2 separate regions of the Homo sapiens genome follow, and region 2 is linked to region 1. The links are contacts of gene promoters, found by promoter capture Hi-C in human tissues and cell types (Jung and others, 2019). All regions are on one chromosome and are shown on one strand. Each heading gives the region's core, a stretch centred on a gene start or on the middle of the fragment in contact. The rest is flanking DNA. Distances are from core to core; before and after follow the strand shown.

What was found. The method cuts DNA at HindIII sites, captures the fragments that hold promoters and counts their contacts. A contact is called where the count stands out against the background at its distance.
Region 2: a contact is called between a fragment that was not itself captured here and the fragment with the promoter of DNER in region 1, in 1 of the 25 tissues and cell types used here (mesenchymal stem cells).

What each region holds. Positions count from the first base shown.
Region 1 is chr2:229,711,276-229,716,883 of GRCh38, reverse strand. It overlaps DNER (delta/notch like EGF repeat containing), which reads left to right and starts at 2,329. Exons shown (of 13, transcript NM_139072.4): 1 at 2,329-2,736. The coding sequence starts at 2,461. RefSeq lists enhancers at 873-1,646, 1,647-2,421 and silencers at 2,259-2,318, 2,389-2,498. The HindIII fragment of the contact is 6,115 bases long and covers 1-3,700 here.
Region 2 is chr2:228,459,241-228,464,848 of GRCh38, reverse strand. No RefSeq gene overlaps it. Among named protein-coding and RNA genes, the nearest start is that of LINC01807, 150 kb to the left of the region's middle. The HindIII fragment of the contact is 9,173 bases long and covers 1-5,608 here.

The sequences.
Region 1 (5,608 bases), core at 1,080-3,579:
AAGATTTGATATTCTGTAAGTTGGGAATAATATAAAATAAAAGCCTGGATTTTTAGCTTTCATTTAAACATAGAGGCAATATTATTTTAATCACTTTTGCTAATGTGACAGGGTAATACATTGGTTGGACTTTTTAGTTGAGTATTTGGGGGATCTTGCAGATGGTTGAAAAGCTGTCAGTAAAGTACCAGATCAGCTTTCGGAATCTACAGAAAAGACCCATTTCTCTGAGCGTGGTAACAGTAATAATAGTTAACACTTTCATGGCACTTAGTACATGGATGTTTTGGGACCAGGACATGCAAATCAATATGCTTTTTCCCCAGCATTAATCATGTTGCTCTGCCTATAAGCTAAGGTGCTGGAAGATTATAGTTTTCCTTTTTAGCCTGGAAAAAATGAAAGGATCTTGTATTGTCTCTGCCATAATATGCATTTTAAAGATTAAAGACTAAGAGAATACTTTTAGCAAGGAAAATTATCTGAAACATGCAGTAACCAGCATCCAGAAAATAAAACCACTTTTAATTATCCTATATTTCAAAATAATATGAAATACACAAACAAAGGGGTTGCTCAGGCAAAAGTACAATAAACTGAAATGTGATTTTAATTAACTCACAACCTTTTTACACTTCATCTTGCTTCATTTGTGTGTGTGTCTTGATGGAAGGCAATGAAGAGCACTATCCACTAGTCCAGGATTTAAGGTAAGAGAAGTTAGTTTCAGGAAAGAACGCAACTCCAGGGGCACAGAAACCACCTGAATGACGACACTAGTACCAGCAGAGGGTGCTGGCGTGGCACAAAATTAAGAATTTTCAAGAGGAAGAGGTCTTAGATTGAAAGACAGCAGGTGTGAGGAAAAATGTAATAACTCTATCCACTTGGAGGTCTGAATTCTCCGCTTGCAGATCTGTCTGGGGTTCAGTGATTTCCTGCAATGGCCACATGAATTTTAGGTATCTCCTGAAGCAGAAAAGTGTGACATTTGCTTCTGCGTTTGAACAGGACAGGGAGAAGCCGTGCAGTTTGCCTTCTGTTTCCACTGGAGGACTTTTAGCAATCCCTGGCGTCTGTGACACCTACAGCAGAAGTTCACATGGAGTCCTTACTTTAATTTTTTTAAAAAACAAAACAAGCTATTTTTGTGTTTACTAAAAAAAAAATTGGCCCAGACTGTCAATCCAGGGGAATCACATTTTCTTTTTTCATTTGGCCACCTTAAAAAGAAGGTAACAGGTACCTGGGAACCCACAGGTAATAGAGATTGTGAAAGGTCAGGTGGAGGAGACAAGGCTGGATGCGCTTTATTCAGCGGAGTGCAGCCTCCTTGGCGGTCGCAGCACCAGCCAGCCCAGCCAGGACGTGTAGAAGAGCCCGCCCCCCCCATCCCCTCCGAAGTAGGTCACAGCGAATGCTCCTTTTATGCAGAGTCCCCTGTTGCGATTCCTGCCGCTAGCAGCGCCTCTGCCAACCTGGGCTTTTGAACTGTTCTTTCGGGCGTTCTGGGCTGGGAGTCAATTGACCCACTGGATTCGAATCCAGACTTTCTGGGCCTCAGTTTCCCCCTAGGTTCAACGACAGGGGTGGACAGCCTTACACCAAGGCCTCTTCCCGGCCTCACACGGCGCGGCCAGACGTTCCTTAGTGGTGCGGCAAGGCCCCGCGCTCTGGAAAGGGCCGGCGAGAATGAGACAGCTGGGTCAGCACCAAGGACAAGGGCCCCGGGTCCGCCTGGCGGAGGCGAGGTCACTTCCAGGCGAACCCGGCTGCTGAGCAAGCGTCGGGCGCAGGGTTCCGTGGCCGGGCGGGAGGGCTTGGGGTGCCGGGAGAAGCGCTGTGGGAAGGGGAGCAGTCCCGGGGGATGAGGCAAGGCCGGGCCCCGCGGCGGTCTCGCAGATTCTGCGCCAAGAGGCCAAAGGTGGCTGCTGCGAGCGCGCCGCCCCTCCCTTGAGGCGCCCTGCCGCCTCCCGCGCCCTGCCCTGCCCGGGCCTTGGGGCGCACTCGGTGCTCCCGGCTCTGGAAGCCCCTCAAAGCCCCGCTTCCCTCACTCGTGGACCTCTCCAGCCCCTTTCCTGCCCCAGCGTCGCCTGGCTCCCTGTACCAGGGCTGCTTCTGGACACACCCGTGACTTCGACCCACTCCTGGGGGATGGGGTCCCGCATCGTCTTCCTGCAACCCCCATCCCAACTCCCTGCGGGGAAAGAGGCCCCACTCCCCGATGCTCCAGAGCCGGGGCCGCCAGGCGCCCCGCCCCCCGCTCGCCCCGCCCCGCCCCGCCCCGCAGGCCCCGCCCGCCGTTGCCCGGGGAACCGCGGATCCCGCAGCTGCAGGAGGCGCCCGGCCCGGCGGAGCAGCCCTAGCCGCCACCGTCGCTCTCGCAGCTCTCGTCGCCACTGCCACCGCCGCCGCCGTCACTGCGTCCTGGCTCCGGCTCCCGCGCCCTCCCGGCCGGCCATGCAGCCCCGCCGCGCCCAGGCGCCCGGTGCGCAGCTGCTGCCCGCGCTGGCCCTGCTGCTGCTGCTGCTCGGAGCGGGGCCCCGAGGCAGCTCCCTGGCCAACCCGGTGCCCGCCGCGCCCCTGTCTGCGCCCGGGCCGTGCGCCGCGCAGCCCTGCCGGAATGGGGGTGTGTGCACCTCGCGCCCTGAGCCGGACCCGCAGCACCCGGCCCCCGCCGGCGAGCCTGGCTACAGCTGCACCTGCCCCGCCGGGATCTCCGGCGCCAACTGCCAGGTGAGTGGAAGCGGCGGGCGCGGTGCGGGGCGCTGGTCCGGGACCAGCAGCCTCTTCCCGCCGGCCCTGCTGCTGCTGCCCGACAATGGGCACGCCTGACACAGGCTTTCCCACTTTGGGAAGAAGATGGATCCAGTCTCTTGGCCCGCGTGGACGCGGACCCCCGGGCCGACCCTGATTCCCTTACCCGCCCTGGTTCCCGGGCGGGGCCAGCCGGGCTCTCGGGGTGTGCCGCTCCGGGGCTCGGCACTTCTCGCGCGGGGCTCTAGACGCTCCGGTTGGCCACTGAGTGGCGCGCCCCTCCAGGCCGGGCCGAGCCAAGAACCACTTGAGCGGTGCCCGCCTTGGCAGCGCGGAGGAGCCGGCTCCGAGCGTCCCCGGCGAGGTGTTCAATGTCCAGGTGGTCCACGCTCCACGTCCGGCTGGACCCTGTGTGTGTAAAGGGTGTGCGGTGTGGGAGGCAGGTGATGGTGGGCCCCGTGCCAGGTGGTGGGGCACTTTCTCCTTCTCTTCCTACGCCCTTGAGGGCTGTGACAAAGCAGCCAGAGGACGAGGAGGGCAGCTGCCTCCCCTCGGCCTGCGACCAGCCCTCTCTAAGCTTAGGAGCAGTGTTGGAACAGTCGGAGGCATTCGAGGGGGCATTGTACGTGGCGCTGGCAGGGCCGCCCTTCCTGCCGGACGCTCCACGGGGCGCACGCTTGGGGCTGGCAGCCGGGGCGTGAGCAGGGCACCGGGAAGCCGCCAGAAAGCGTGGGGGCGGTGCGAGGGATGGGACGATGGGATGTAGCCAGCAGCCGCCCGTGAATTTGGGGTTTTCAGGAGAATTTGGCAGAAAATAATATCTGGGGCTTTTACAAGTCCGTTAAAGCTCTGTGAAACCTATTAACATCAACATTTCCAGTAGGCAATTTGGTAGGACTGTGTGTACGGGTAGAAAATCCCCAAACCTGTATTGCAGGGTAGGGCAAATAATGAAGTTATCTGAAATGATTACATTAAACCACATGAATATGGACGATATTTGGGATCAGATACTATCTTCCTTACATTTAGGGTGGAGGAGTTTGTTTCATATAAATTTGATAACAATGATTGGAGAGTTACTTTGAGAATGCTCAAATAGGTTCTTTCAATGGGGAAAAAGGCTGCCCTTTCATTATGACAGGTTTTACATTTTTTAGAGGTAAATGGGATTGAGAAACTTGACCTTGACAGCCAGATTTTTTTGCATTTATCTAGAATCTTTTTATTTCATTTAATAGCAAATTAGCAAACTGAATCTATCTTTTCAACACTGTGCTCTTCCTCTTTGTTTACTGGTTACAATAAGCTTTAGTTACTTGAAGGGAGGTGATGAGGAGGAGGAAGAATTTGTGTGATGTGAGCCTCAGGAGTAGATTTGGGACATGATAGCTTCTTGGGGGAAATGCCTGTTGGAGCCATTCTAACCATTAGAACAAAATCTTGCTTTTGCAAAAGTCAAAATAACTGCAAATCAAAAACCAAGGAATGCACTCACGCTAATTTTCCCTGTGGATTGATGATTTATATGACTTTTCCTGAAGAAATGAATTGTCTGAGTGTGTCCATCAAACTGCTGTTATATTCACACGTCTGAATTTTATCCTTCAAAGAAATAGTTGATTTGGACCTAGGGTTTAGTGGGAATGGATGGGAGAAGGTAGGTTAGAGTGCCCATCGATTTACATGAGAAGAAAGACTCACTGGGAATTTAACACAACTCTGAGATGGTTTTTGGTGACTCTAAAAACAGATATAAGACATCTTCAAGAAAAAGAGCTCTTTAGTGCCACCTAAAGATGACTAACAGCGAAACATAAATATTTTGATTTGTCCTAAGTAGTGACTTGATGTATAATATAATTCATTCCGAAGAGTCAGGAACTAATACATAACATTGCAGGACCAACTGGATCAAAACAGATTCAGATTTCTTTTGTAGCTCCCATTGGAGGTAGGCTTAGCTGTGTGAACACCATCCACCTGAGCAGAAGCAATACTGCATGCCCTGGTGTGTGAGTTGGAGAGAGCGGTGAAGTTACTGTAATCCTCATAGGAAAGCTTAGTGAACTTGGAACTTGATTGGACTTGGTTACCCAGAAAAACTTACTGAGATGATTCAGGGCCTTACAATCCATAAAAATGGATTCCTGATGATTTTAATTTAATCGTTCATGATCTCGCAGTAAGACTTGAGACTCATTTTTCATGGGAACAGCAAAGAACACAAAAGACAATTTCAGAAGAGAAGTTAAACCTGGGGTGGTGGGGAGGGGAGGGGAGAGAGGGAGAGAGAAACTACACATACTCAATTACAGATAAGGAAATTGGATCTTAGCCACTGCAGACTATGTGGTTGCTGAAATAGAACCTTGTGCTCACTGGATAAATTGGAAATGGAATTTTACCTGGATGTAAAGAGGATCTTTTAACAGAGCGTCACTCCTCCTTCTCCAAAGACAATAGTGTTAGCAATGGTAACATTAGAACCTAACCTTGAAGTTTCTTTCTGTGTGTGGGGAAATTTTGAGAAAATCATAAACTACGAATTAGGATTAAAATGGCTGTCTTTAGGCTTTTTTAAAAAAGGATGTCTTTAGCTTTTCTGTGGTTGGCTGATTGAGTTTGCGTAAGTCAATGGGGTCTAGGACATGCTTCTTTTGTCACCTGAGTCATGGAAACTCCTAGGATTTGGGAATTGTAGGTCGTGTGGGTTTGAAGTCAAGCTGAAGTTAAAACTACTGGGTCTTATTTCCTCATCTTCAACGATGGGATCTATGGGACCTACCTCATGAAGATAGTGATTCCATTCCTTGATGTCTGATTGCTGCTGACAGCTTTAAAGCCTCAC
Region 2 (5,608 bases), core at 1,814-4,313, 1.3 Mb after region 1:
GTGAGGGTTAATTTTACGTATCAACTTAGCTGGGCCACAGTACCGAAATATTTGGTCAGACACCAGTTTAAATATTGCTGTGAAGGAATTTTTTATTTCAGATGAACCTTTAAATCAGTAGACTTGGCCGAAAGCTGATGACCCCCAGTATTGTGGGTGGGCCTCATCCAACCAGTTGAAAATCTTAAGAGAAAAAAATGAAGTTTCCCTGAGGAAGAAGCGATTCTGCGAACAGACTCTTTTAGACTTAGAGCTTCAACATCAATTCTTCCCCTGGGTCTTCAACCTGCCATTCTACCTTGCAGATTTTTGACTTGTCAGCCTTGACAATCACATAAGCCAATTCCTTAAAGTAAATCAGTCACTCTTTCTTTCTCTCTATCTCGCTGCACACACACACACACACACACACACACACACACACACTCTTTTATCTGGAGAACTGTAATCCAATTAGAAAGTCTTCAAGTGGGAAAGGGGAACTGGGGACAGTGGGTAGGAAAGGGAGAGAGTATACCAGACCTCTATCATGTATGACCTGGGATTGCAGTGTAAGAAGCCTACTGTTTATTGTTCAACATAGTAAAGCCAACCAGAGATTTTTTGAACAGGAGATTTTGTTTGTGTGTGTGTGTGTATGATGAACACCATTGCTATTGTAAGAAATGATTTTTAAAGGGGCTGATGGAAACTAGAAAGATGAGTAAGAGTATGGTTATTAATTGGTAGTTAGTAATACTTTCGTTGGTTACGGGCCTGGAACAGTATTGACCAGTTGGGAAGAAAAGCTAGCATTGGAATTTCCAAAATTTGGGGGCCTCTGGTAATACCTTGTGGATCAGAGTCATTTGATGGCAGACATCAGTGGAATGTAGGGATTTTGGATTACATCGAAGGGACCTACTGTGAATGCATGACTAACTTTGGCAGTCCCAATATTGGAGTCCAGATGTTTATGATTTTGATTGCTCTAACTTACCTAACAGTAGTAATTCAACATCCTGAAATTTTCATCTAGATCTTTTTCACTGGGCCTAAAAAAAAAAACCACAGAACCAGAGGCAGCTTCTATTTGCTGCTCCCCAGCCCCCAACTTAATTCCCACTTATCTTTCATCCAGCTTTCTCACTTACCAACTCCTGCTCAAAAGCTCACATGGAGAAGCCAAACTAACCACTGCACAGTTTCAAAAGGCTCATGTGTGTACCAAGGCTACTACCTCTGGATGTTGCCAATTTAGAATCCTTGTGATGCCAATGCAACATGAGGGCCCAGGAATCAAGAGGTGGAAGTGGAAGTGGCACCACTCACCATCACCCCTCATGATCCACTAGCGACATTTTTGCTTCCTGTTCCTGCAACATTACGTTCTGCTGGCCTAGAGGTCTTAGTCCCAGAGGGAGGAATGCTGCAACGAGAAGACACAACAATTCCATTAAACTGGAAGTTAAGATTGCCACCTGGACACTTTGGGCTTCTCCTACCTTCAAGTGAACAGGCTAAGAAGGGAGTTACAGTGTTGGCTGGGGTGATTGGCATGGACTATCAAGACGAAGTAGGTCTACTAATCCACAGTGGAGGTAAGGAAGAGTATGCGTGGAATATAGGAGATCCCTTAGGACATCTCTTAGTATTACCATGTCCTGTGATTAAGGTCAAAGGGAAACTACAACAGCCCAATCCAGGTGGACTACAAATGGCCCAGACCCTTCAGAAATAAAGGTTCCAGTTACTCCACCAGACAAAAACAAAAAACAAAAACACTACCTGCTGAGGTGCTTACTCATGCCTCAGTCTCCGAAGTAGCTGGGACTACAGGCATGCTCCACCATGCTCGGCTAATTTTTTTTTTCAGTAGAGATGGGGTCTCACCATGTTGGCGAGGCTGACCCTCAGGTGACCCACCCACCTCAGCCTCCCAAAGTGCTGGAATTACAGCTATGAGCCACCACACCTGGCCACTTGACTTCATTCTTAATTTTTATTTTTAGCAAATTAAACATGAACATAGCTTAAAAATTCAAGTAGTTGAATAAGGCTTTTAATGAAAAAATCATTATCTGCCTTACTCTTCATAGCCCCAGAGATATACTCTGCAACAGTCAATAACTTCAAACTTAAATTCCAGCTGTTTGCTATGGAATGTAACTCCCTGTTTTTAAATAATCTGCCTTTAGAGTTATTATTATTTTAGAATTAAATATTGACTCAACTCTTTACTATGTAAGATTACAATTTAGGTTTTTATACCCTTACCATATATGTTATTTGGATGAGTATTTGGTTTACATTAATGACAGCAAGTTTAGTGATTCCTTGCCTCTTCTCTTTTTATATGAGGCTCTGAACTGAGAACAAGAGATGGCAGTTATCCACAGTCAAACAAGCACCTGTTCTCGAGATCTAATAGTCTTATAGGATGTCTCAGGTGGACACTGTGGTCTAAAATGTCTCATTAGAATATGGAGATACCTGTTTTACACTATTGTTCTTAGGGTGCTCTAATATTTGGGAATCTACTCTGTGTCCTTCACTCATCAGCTTTCTGCAAGGTATACAATGGGGTCCTAGGCAACAAGCAGAAGCAAGGGAGAAAGGAGACGTTGTCTCCCTACCCCCAGTCAACTGTAGATTACATCAGCATGAATAATGAGTATGAGGGGAGTCAAAGGAACTTGAAATGAGTGTGAGAAGAAAGGAGATATATGAGTATAAGTAATAATCATCATCATCATAGTAATAATAACGTTAACTTCTGTCATTGTTTTGGCTGTTTCTACATGTTGAGATGTTCTGGCCACAATATAAGGAATCAGCACGTGTTTGTAAAGTCCCTTTGCAAAAATATATAATAAGAATAATAACAAAAACAAAAATAAAATCTAGAACCAGATAATTAACAACAAATTTTGATATTGAAGATTTATTTGGATAATTCAATTACATCTGCCTGAGGAAAATAATGCAACCTTTTGAAATATCAGTAATTCAAATCTCATGTGATGAAGTAGGAAAAACAGAGATGTAACCACTAATTAAAAACTATTCCAGCCGGGTGCGGTGGCTTACGCCTGTAATCCCAGCACTTTGGGAGGCCGAGGTGGGTGAATCACGAGGACATGAGTTCAAGACCAGCCTGATCAACATGATGAAACCCCGTCTCTACTAAAAATACAAAAATTAGCCAGGTGTGGTGGCATGTGCCTGTAATCCCAGCCACTCAGGAGGCTGAGGCAGGAGAATCACTTTAACCCTGGAGGCAGAGGTAGCAGTGAGCTGAGATCATGCCACTGCACTCCAGCCCGGGTGACAGAGCCAGACTCTGTCTCAAAAAAAAAAAAAAACAAAAAAAAAAACTATTCCAGCAAGACTGTTTTGAGTTGTCCAATGGTGACAACATCATACTGTACGTTACTCAATCAGCATGAGACAGTAGGAAACCTTAGCTGACTGTCTACAGGGCATGAGGTGCAAGTGGGAACTGAAAGCACAAAATAGTCATTGAGCTTATTGGTTGTCAAGCTTTTGTGATTCTATCTGTACTACTATTAATGTTTTATCAAATGGTCACAAACTGTGTATTATTTTTATGTTATTTTCGCTATAAAAAGTAATACTTATAAAGAGTATTTTCTATATCAGATTATTAAATAATTACTGGTGGAGAAGAGATTGAAGACCAAAGTTACAAATGATTTAAAAAAAAAAAACATTTCAAAAGTGGTGAAGGGAGAGCCAAGGCAAGATGGCCTACTAGACAGAGCCAGGAAAAACATCTGCCACCAAGGGACAAGGACTTCAGGAAGACTGGTGCATCTCCCAGGAGATATTCAGAGTGAAGGCATTGAGAGTGGACAGATGGAAGATACAGACACTGGGCTGAAAGGGGAGGAAGCTGGGAACCCTGCATGAGGTGACCACGCACCGAGACTCGTTCCTGACCCCCAACAATTCTGGGGAAAGGGGTGAGTTGAGCAGGCAAGGAGTGACCTGCTCTTGCCTCAGACATCTAGAATCCTGGCAGCAGGGGAACTCATGATTCTCAGGGACACTTGAGCTGGCAGGGAAAGCTGCTTAGAGAGGTGGTAGCGGCAGTACTTCAGCCTGTGTAGAGCCCACAGAGTTTGGTGTTGGAATATTTGCAGTGGAGCACAGTCAGGGATGTTCACCCTCCAAGGCTCCCCGTGCTCCCTTAGAAGACTCTAGTCTTAGGGAAACTGTCATACCTGAACAGAGAAGGAAAATCTTGAATGTGAGATGGGGCCAGTTTGACCTGAGCACTCCCCTGTAAGCTGGCTTCTCCTGGATCCCCAGCCTGACTGTGCCTGTTTGTGGTACAGCCTCAGGTGCCCAAGTAGGGTGCCTCCTGGGGACCTGCATCATAGCTCCTATACTAGCAGACTGCACCTGACCATTTGAGAGCTCTAGCAGAGTGGTTCCCACTGACACACACAAGCCCATCCACACCCTAATCCTATGGCAACCTCCCCCATGACACTTTGCTGGCACACACTTGCCCATGCCCACCTACCCCATTGCTTTGCTGAAGCATGAGCATGTAGGTGGACCTCGCCTCCCCTTACCTGCCAGCATGTGTGTGTGCATGGATGCCAACATGCTTCTGTTGCTAGTGTGAGTACACCCCGCTCCTAGCCATACCACCATTGCCAATGTGAATGCATGCATATAGAGGTCAGCAGCCCTTCTCACCCTCTGTGCTGCCACTGCTGTGAATGCCTGCATAGAGGCCAGCAACCCTGTGCCCACCAGTGCCCCACCCCAGCCTATGAGCAAGCACCCCACCATGCTGCTGCTACTGGCACAAACAAACAAGCACAGATCCTAGTGCCACTGCCTGATGCAATGCTTTGGCTGGCCCTACTCGTTACAGTGTTGTGGCCAGCAGTCCTGGAACACATCAGCCCCTCCAATGCACAGTTTCCTAACCTTGAGGGACCAGAGAACAAAGCTCGACATCCAATACCAGTCCCCCAGAGGTACAGCATGCAACTTAGGGGTGCCAACCTGTGCCTTGGCCTCCTAAAATCCTCCACAAATGAAGCCAGTTGACTAAACCCACCTACACCACAATGAAACTTCCAAGGGCATTGAAGATTAAAGCCAAAAAATCTCGTTCAGAGGATAGCAACATCAAAGACTGAAGGAGCATGAGATCACAAAGATGAGGAATAACAAAGCAAGAACTCTGGCAACTCAAAAAGCCAGAGTGTCTTCTTACCACTAAACAACTGCACTAGTTGCCCAGACATGATCCTTAACCAGTCTGAAATAGCAGAAATAGAATTCAGAATATGAATAGGAATGAAGATCATCAAGATTCAGGAGAAAGTTGAAACCAAATTAATGTATTTTAAGGAATACAATAATATAATACAGGAGATGAAAGATGAAAAGATCATTTTTAGAATGAACTAAACTCATCTGATAGAGTTGAAAAACTCACTTCAGAAATTTCAGAATATAACTGCAAGAATTAATACCAGAATGGATCAAGCTGAGGAAAGAATCACATAGCTCAAGACTGGTTCTCTGAAATAACTCAGTCAGACAAAATAAAGTAGAATGTTTAAACTAACAAATGTTTAAA